Linked DNA regions of Homo sapiens: region 2 is linked to region 1. The links are contacts of gene promoters, found by promoter capture Hi-C in blood cells and fetal thymus (Javierre and others, 2016). All regions are on one chromosome and are shown on one strand. The core of a region is centred on a gene start or on the middle of the fragment in contact, and the rest is flanking DNA. Distances in the headings are between cores, read along the strand shown.

Region 1 (4,489 bases), core at 1,396-3,895:
CTGTAATCCCAGCTACTCCTGAGGCTGAGGCAGGAGAATCACTTGAACCTGGGAGGTGGAGGTTGCGGTGAGCTGAGATTGCACCATTGCGTTCCAGCCTGGGTAACAAGAGCAAAACTGACTCAAAAAAAAAAAAAAAAGATGGGGGTCTCACCATGTTGAGGTTTGGAGGGTCTCAAACTCCTGGCCTCAAGCAATCCTCTCACCTTGGCCTCCCAAAGTGTTGGAATTACAGGCATGAGCCACAGTGCCCAGCCAACTAAAACTCTTATATATTCCTGATGGGAATGCAAAGTAGTAGTCTCTTTGGAACACAGTTGGGTAGTTTCTCATTAAGTTAAACAGATTTACTATACGACCTGGCAATCTTACCTCTATATATTTTCCCAAGAGAAATAAAAATGTATGATGACACCAAAACCTGTATGCAAATGTGTAGAGTCCTTGGCATGTAATGTCAACTGGAAACAGCCCAGACATCCTTCAATAGGTGAATGGTTAAACAAATTGCTGTATATCCACACCATGGAACACCACTCACCCATAAAAAGGAAGGAAGTACTGATACATGCAACTACATGGATAAATCTCAGGATCATTATGTCTGGCGAAAGAAGCCAGACTCAAAAGGCCACATCCTGTATGATTTCATTTATATGACATTCTGGAAAAGGCAATGCTATAGGGACTGAAAACAGGCCATTCATTCCCAGAGGCTGGAGTACGCCGAGCAGCTTATCTGACAAAGAGGTGCAGTGAGTTTTTGAGCTGATAGAAACCATCTCCATATTGATTGTGGTGGTGATCACTGGACCAAGCTGATGGAAACCACATACATTTGCCAAAGCTCTCAGAATGGCCACAGAAAGTCGGAATTTTTACCATATGTTAATTGTATCTCCAGAAGTGCGGGACACCAAGCGCCCCTTAGCCATATGACCTGGGCCAAATGATTTAATCCGTCTGAGCAGCAGCTTCCTAATCTATAAAAAGGGGATGACAATAAAACCCACAGACTTTGAAGGATCAGCTGAAGATGTACACACACACACACACACACACACACACACTGTGTAAAGGGATGCATAAAACATCCAGATACAGCCGGGTGTGGTAGCTCATGCCTGTAATCCCAGCACTTTGGGAGGCCGAGGTGGGCAGATCACCTGAGGTCAGGAGTTGGAGACCAGCCTGACCAACATGGAGAAACCCCATCTCTACTAAAAATACAAAATTAGCCCAGCATGGTGGCACATGCCTGTAATCCCGGCTACTCGGGAGGCTGAGGCAGGAGAATCACTTGAACCTGGGAGGTGGGGGTTGCGGTGAGCCGAGATCGCGTCACTGCACTCCAGCCCGGGCAACAAGAGCAAAACTCCATAAAAAAAAAAACAACAACCCAGATTCTCGGAGCACTAAAACCTGTCCCCAGTCCCAGGAACCAGCTGGATGCACCACTCAGCCACTCCAACGGAGGCGAGGCCTCCTTCTCATGAAAGTGTAGAAATGGCCATCTTGAGAGAAATGGCTAAACAAGTCCAGCCCCCAGTGCTTGGTGTGGAGTCACGTCACCCTGGCACACCTGGCGGGCGGTGCAGAGCACAGGCTCTCAATGGCAGCCAGTGAGGGCACCAGGGCTGCAAGCCCCGTAGGAATGCATGTGGGGGAGAGGTGCTCTTTTTCTTTGCAGAGTGGAGCAGATTCATTTACACCCATGAGGCTTTCTTTGGTACTGAGTGCTTTCTGTAGGGTGGGGTCCCTTCCAGGAACTTTTCACAGCCTGGGTGTCTGAACAGCAACCCTACTGCCACAGGCACTACTAGCGACCCTGTTGTAGACAGGAGGAAACTGAGGCCCAGAGAGCAGAACTCACTTGCAGGGGCTCAGGAGTAGTAAGCAGCAGGGCCAATCCTGGGCCGTGCACTGGTACTGGCGTTGGCAGTGGGATCTGCGGGCTCCTTTGGGGACATGTCAGACAAGTAATGGCATCCATCACAAGGGTCCAGATAGAGCTCTGAGGGGAGGCTGGTCTGAGGCCCAGGGCCAAGGCACCCACCTGGAATGAGCCTGAGGACAGCAGGTCCCTGAGCTGTGTCAGATGCTTAGAGAAGGCAGGCACCCTGGGCGGGTTGTGTCACCCTCTTGCTCTGGCCCTGTGAACCCTAAGCTCGCTTTGCTTAAGAGAGGGAGGCTTGGCAGCTCCTAGAGGCCCAGGCCCTGGCTGAATTTCTCCAGGGTCCTCAGAGGGTGGGGAAGTGACTGGGCAGAAGTGGGAAGGAACCAGCCCTGCGCCGTCGCCCGGGCTCTTGGCTCCTGCACCCAGAGCCGTCCGGCAGGGAAGCGGCAGGTAAAGATGAATCAGTGATTCAGGGCTGCAGGCCAGGCACCAGGCCAGGCTGTAAAAGTTATTGTGCAGCATCACAATGGAAGGCGGGGGACACAAATAGCATCCGAGGGAAACTAGTGGCCCTGACTTGGAAAGCAAACCTCTCTGCAGCCACGGGACCCCCAACAGCAGCCTCACAGAGCCTGCCCCGGCCACCCTAGTCTGGGCTAACTGTCCTGCCTTCTCCTCCAAGATTCCCTTGCCTGGGTCCCTCCTCCCTCGGCCTCACCACACTCCTCTGGGGACCCTGTGCTTGGACTCCACCCTTTCCTGTCCAGACCACTGTGAAGGCCTTTAGTCACCTCCTAGAGAAGCAAGATTTTCAGCCCTGGCTTTCTACCCCCACACCCTACAGTAAGTAAGATAAATTACCCACCCACCACCTGCCCCCACTTCTCTCCACGGAGCCTCGTTCGGCCTGTGGCCACTCATGTCTGTTTCTAAGGGAACAGTCAAGGGCAAATCAGTGGAGAAGCTGGCCTGTGCTGGCAGGGGTGCTGCAATGGGGCTGTGCCCCTGCCTTCCTGCACTTCCTGCCAGGGAGCCACTCCATTCTTTTTTGCCATCTCCCAGGCCGGCCAGGGGACAGGGTCGTGTTCACACAGTGCTAAGGGAACACGCTGACGTGTGTGACATCAAGAACTCCAGTGCCCACACAGCCCGAGTCCGGATGGTGAGCTCCAGGGAGACCCAGCAGGGCTGCAGGGGGAGCACTGACTGAGCCCATGGGGGAAAGAGGCTCCTGCCGAGCCCAGAGCCCAGAGAGCTGGCCAAGGGGTAGGGTTAGGAGGGATGGAGCTGGGGGCAACAGGCTAGAGAAGAGACAGCTGGGGGTGGGAGGATCTCTCCAGGGTCGTCTCACAGCACCCAGCGGACTCGCTCTGTGCTGCTGCAGAGTGACTCTGACAGTCAGAGCCAGGCAGCCGGGGACAGGCACAGAGCCAGACTCCCTTCCTCCTCCCCCTCCCTCTCGCCGTGCAGTGCCTACTCAGTGCTGGGAGGCTCTGAATGGCACGGGGATGGAGAGTGTAACAACAGAGCGTTAGGGCCCTGCCCCAGTCCGGCAGGAAGCTCGGTCTGGTGGGGAGACCAGCCCAGGCAGACACAGCAGTGCATGCACTGGGCACACCCTGGCTCTGGCTGGAGGGCTCAGAGGCCTCAGGGCCTTCCAGCACTGGTCTCCGTGTCTGAACCCCCCATGGGACAGGATGGGAGCTGCCAGCAGAACCAACAACTCAGTTCCTGGTAACTCCAAGTGGAGATGGGCAGGAACGCTCCCAGGAGGCGCATCAGCAGTCAGAACCAGGGGCTTGGGCCTCAGGAAGGCAGGCTGCTGGCCAGGCCCCCTGGACTCAGGAGACCAAGGCCAGGACGTTCACCAGGGCCAAAGAGAGCAACACCAACAGGGCTGGGCTCCAAGGCCGGGCCGCCTCCCCTCTAGCTTCCCAACACCAGTCCTCCCTGAACATTTCCTTCCAGGAAGACAGGGGCTATTAACTACGTCCCATCCGATTCACAGGGACGTTTGAAATCAGGAAGGAGTGTGGGTTGGATCCACGTTTCTGTTCATACCAGGCAGGCACATCGGAAGGCTCACGGTCAGAGGATGCTGGGACAAACGCCACGAGAGGTTCCTTTTTGTCTGGCTCACCCAGAAGAGAGGCTCCTCTCCTCCCTTCCCTGCAGCACAACGGCCTGGCTGGCACCCAAAGGGCAGCCGGCATGGGCTGACCTCAGAGGAGCAAGGCGTGTTTGCAGCTCTGCCGCTCACATCCACAGTGGCCATGACAACAGGTGCAGCACCATCCATTAAAGCCCTGTGTCATTTCACTTAATTCTCACAACGACCCCCGGAGAAAGGGACTACTATCCCCATTTTCCAGATGAAAAAGGAAATTGGTCCTTAGAGTGATCATCCACCCAAGGCTAGTGACAGGGCTCAGATTGGAACCCAAGGCCCTCCAAGATCTCAAGTCACAGACAAAGAAAGCCCATCTCTGACTTGGCAGGGGAAGGGGGAGGTCACACTGGGAGAGCTGGATGTTGATTCTGAAGGCCTCCCCCAGTAAACCGCTCCAACAACAAAAAGGGGCTTTCTGTACA
Region 2 (4,489 bases), core at 1,012-3,511, 52 kb before region 1:
CTCCTCCCTCTGGCCTGCTCAGCTGGGACCCCCTGTAGAGGCTGTCTTGGGACCCTGGACAGGATATCAGGAGGTACAAATAAATGGAAAAGAGGGTGCAGAGACCTGAGGGACCCTCTCTGGAGCCCCACTTCTCCCTTCTTACCAAACCTCCACATCTACAAAACCCACCTCTGGCATCAGCTCACCCAGAATGCCCCAGGCTCTGGGCCTCCCTCTACCCCAACGGTGCACTATAGGGCACTGCAATCATCTCTGCTTGCGAGCCTCCTCTGTGCCACTCAATATGGCTGGAAGGTGAGACTGGGTTCCCAGTGCCCTAGCAGGGCCATATGCCAAGCAGAAGCTCAATCAGTGGTAGGTATTGTGCTGAGGTGGTCCAGGCGCCAGTCTCCAGAAAATGCTGATTCGGATGCCCAGGGCTGGGTGACTTTCCACTCTCCCTGCTGTCGTCTGACATGGCTATCATCATCTCCACGTGCTCCCAAGGCCACCTTGATGCAGCATCTACTAACTCAACAAGTACTAGCTAGGCTTGCCATGGGCCAGGCCCGATGCTGGGGCTGAGCATGCGATGGGGACCAGAACAGACCTGGTCCCTGCCTCAAGGGGACTGTACCCCACGAAAGTGGGGAAATGGACTTCATGCAGATCATCATACACGTCTAGGGTATGAAGCTTATGTGTGACTGAGCTGGGAACCCGAAGCCTTATGCTTTGCAGCCGTCATCCAGGGCTTTGACTTGGGTAGAGACACAGTATACTTGAGCTGGGAGGGACAGTTCTGTTGGAGTGAATGAGGCCAAGAAGTCAGGAGGAGGATCTGCGCAGGGGCAAGGAGAGACCACAGGCAGGAAGAAGTGTTCAAAGACAGGGATGGAAAGGACATCCTGAGTCCAGGAGGTCAACAGAGAATGTGGCATCTGGGAAGGCCAGGGCAGTAGCACTGTGTCATAGCCCTTGAGTCTCAGTGTCTGCCTTCTCCATAAGAACACCAGCTCTGGGGGCAGGGACCATGCTTGCTTTATTCCTTGCCAATCTCTAAATACCAGCACAGTACTGACATACAGTAGGTGCTCAATAAATGTTTGTAAACTAGATAAAAAGTGCCTCATAGATATTGTCTCATTTACTCTTAACAACAACCCAGTGGAATCAGGATTATCAGCATCCGCATTTTGCCAGTGAGGGAATGGAGGCTCTGGGAGATTGAGAACCTCAGCCAAGTCACGCGTTGAGTAAACCATGGAGGCAGGATTTGCACCCAGGGCTGCTCTGACCCTCAAACCCATATTCTCAACCCGTGTGCCACTTTGCTTTGGCCTCTTTTTCTAGCAGATTCTTTATCTCTTGGAGCTGCTGCTACCACCTCCATGAATACAACCGGGCCATTGGTATGCGAACCTACGTGCTCCCTGTACCGGCTGCCTGCTCATCTATGCATATTTCGTTATTAAAATGGGGATACTTCAATCTCCGAATAATTTTGTCTTTAGGGAAGCTCCGTCCCCAGCTGCCCACAGCGAAAGCCCCCAGGAAGCAGGCACCTACTTGTGATTCAGGCCACCGTGTCCATCTGTCAACACGGTTGTCTCCTGTATCTGCCATCTCTTATTTATAATCCCGCTCAGATTAATGAATGACAGTAGTTCTCATCACAGGAAATTTGATTAATCAATTTAAGTGCTTAATCACCACAGCCTTGCTGAGCGCTGAGCATAAGGGATCTCACTTTGATGCAGATGAATTTCAGGAAGAACTGGGAGAGTAGAAACAAAATTGTCAGCACTTCTCCATGGAAACCCCATGGAGGTTTCAGGGCTGAGGACAGCGCTGGGGAAGTCCTGGGGCCCCCAGAAGCCAGAGGTGGGGTAACAAGAGGATGGGTGGATGACTTACGCAGGGAGCAGCCCTCTGAAACCGCCGGAATCGAGGCCTCCTTTGCACCTTGATTCCACCCAGAGTCTGCGCCTACGCTTTGGGCAGGGGAGGCAGAACCCACGTTGGTCTAAGAGCAGGGAGAAGTGGGCATGATCCTACCATGCTGCAGGGCCTCGGGATGGGGATGGGATTTGCTGCTCTTTGTGCCCAATTAATGAGCGAGACGAACAAGCACACTGAGTAGCTTCCTGCCAGCCGTCCCCTTTGGCAGCAAACTCATCCCCACCTCTGGGCCTTGGCTCGAGTTGTTAGCCAACTCAACCTTGAAGCCGTCCCTTCCTATCAGCCCATGCAAATTCTGCCATCAGCCAAGGACCGCCTCTTCCTCTTCCGGGAAGCTGACTTCAAGCCATGCCCTTCCCTTTTGCAAGCTCCCGTGGCTCGCGACCCGCAGCCCACCCCTGCACCAGTGGACACTGCGGGATGGCCTGGCCTCGGCTCTGCATTTTCACTTCTCTTAGCTCTCATCTCCTCCACCACAGAGACAGCTCTGTCTGAGTATCTTTCTGATACTGTTCTTTATCCCCCAGGACTGGCCCAGCCCAGGGCGGTGCGTACAGCAGACACTTAATGTAACACAGTAGCAGCTTTTAATTTCTCAGGCCAATGAGATACAGACAGTCACTGGTATGGTAGTTTTTCAGTCAAGCATCAAGGGTGTGTGCCCCTGGGGGACATTGCAAAATGCTGGGTGTGGGGAGCAGTTTGAACAGCAACATTCAATATTACACCATGTTTTCATTTTTCAAATGCAGGAAGAACTTATTAGTTTGAATTACAAACAACAGAAGTAGAAAACTCCACAAGGAAAAATCTCAGCTGGTGAAGAAGCTCAGGAGCTCACAGAAGGTGAGCACTTGGGGGTAAGTGGGCTGGGCACCTCAGGAGTTTTGTGATGTCCAAAAGGAGATGTGGGTGACGTAGGGTTTAAAACCCGCACCTGTAGGACCAGTCAAATGGAGACAGAGTTGGCTTCCCAGAGCTACCGCAAGGGCACGAGGTAGGAGGACCAAGCTACCAGTTACTGAATGGGCACTGAGCAGCTATAATGTGTGCACTAAGCTTGTCCTGTCTTAATCCCAAAACAGTGTGATGAAGTAATCAAACCATCGCCATCGGCTAAGGAAACCGAGGGGTGCAGAGCTGATGTCGCTTGGCCCGCAAGCCACGGAGAGTGGGAGCAAGAGGAGGTTTGGTCAGGCTGCCTCTGCCCCTGTCTTTCTCGGCCCACAGGCTCCAAGCAGGCAGGACCAGACCGCAGCTTCCAGGTGCTGGGATCCGGGGACCACACCTTCACCTGCTGCTCTCTTGAAGGAAAAACAAATATCTGCCTCTGGCAGGTAAAAAAAAAATAAAAGGAGTGCGTCTCATGCTGTTTGTGATAGCTGCTACACAGAGAAAGACTAATTTTGGAAACCGATTATTAAAAAATATATTCACTCTGAACGACGCAATCAATCAAACCTTCAAGATGCAGGTTCAGCCGGTGCCGTGGAACTCCCAGGCAACACACGGCTCCTTCCCAGGCTGCTGTCTGGCCCGGCCAGGCCTCCTTCCCACTGGGACTGTCCCAGCTCTGCCCTGGGGACATTGGCCTCCGGCCTGCCCAGGCTGCAGTGAGGATGGAGAGGGAAGAGGTCGGGGCTCCCGATTGCTGACTGGTCAGGAGGCAGCTGCGGAGTCAGGATTGAAGCCGCATCGGCTCCCATGCCATGAAGTGGACAAAGTGGACACCTCTCCCCACCAGGTAGTGGGCACAGAGCCCAAGACACACTGGTAGGAGCAGTCCCTAGCCTGCCCTCTCGCCTATGCCACGGGGCCAGTGCCACCTGAGCCATGGGCTAATGTGCCAGAGATGTGGGGCACATGGGATGCCCAGTGCGGGTACCCGCCCAGTGCTGCCTGCGTTCCAGGAGCCACCTGCCTCCCTTGCCACTGAGACAGGCCTGCTGGGCCTCAACAAAGCCTCACGGAATTCTAGCGATGATTCTGTGAAGGGATCTCCGAGCTCACTGGGGCCTCTTCATTTTGCAAATGAGGAAGCCAAGGTTGGAGATGCAGCTCACGTGACTCCGACACTCCGCACCTTGGACAGCCTCAGATACCCAGGCTTTGCCTCCTGGGAGGCTGGGCTCGGCACTCTCCCTCCCTTCACCCCTTCATCTGCACCTGGGGAGCTCAGAGACCTGCACCCTAGAGGCCTGCACACTTCCGTTCCTCCCCATCATCACAGTGGGGCAGTCCTGAATGAGAAGCTGCCCAGGTGGTGTCTGGCCTATGGGCCTGCACTCTGGAGGCTGGATCCCAGGACCTATGTAGGACGGTGGCCGTACCATGCGCAGGCTTGAGCCTGTTAACCAGTAGCTCAGAGGGTCCTCAGTGGGGAGCCCTGGTCCTGCATGGGTGGTGGGTCCCACACAGACTCAGGCAGGTGAATCGACCCTCCATGGAGGCATCAGGTGGCAGAGTCGCAGTGAGGCAGGAGTGGGGGCTGGACCGGGAGACGTGCTTCAGGGTAGTGTCCACTCGGCCTGACCTGGGTGGTGCA

The links. The method cuts DNA at HindIII sites, captures the fragments that hold promoters and counts their contacts. A CHiCAGO score of 5 or more calls a contact.
Region 2: a contact is called between the fragment with the promoter of CAMTA1-AS1 here and the fragment with the promoter of CAMTA1-AS2 in region 1, in 17 of 17 cell types (neutrophils, activated CD4 T cells, total CD8 T cells and 14 more). The highest score is 15.7, in neutrophils.

What each region holds. Positions count from the first base shown.
Region 1 is chr1:7,387,910-7,392,398 of GRCh38, reverse strand. It overlaps CAMTA1-AS2 (CAMTA1 antisense RNA 2), which reads left to right and starts at 2,645. Exons shown (of 3, transcript NR_146199.1): 1 at 2,645-2,740; 2 at 2,960-3,059. The region is part of intron 5 of CAMTA1 (calmodulin binding transcription activator 1); the gene reads right to left. RefSeq lists an enhancer at 3,733-4,270. The HindIII fragment of the contact is 18,859 bases long and covers 1-4,489 here.
Region 2 is chr1:7,439,389-7,443,877 of GRCh38, reverse strand. It overlaps CAMTA1-AS1 (CAMTA1 antisense RNA 1), which reads left to right and starts at 2,261. Exons shown (of 2, transcript NR_187278.1): 1 at 2,261-2,790; 2 at 3,030-3,311. All of the region lies in intron 5 of CAMTA1 (calmodulin binding transcription activator 1), which reads right to left. The HindIII fragment of the contact is 2,325 bases long and covers 681-3,005 here.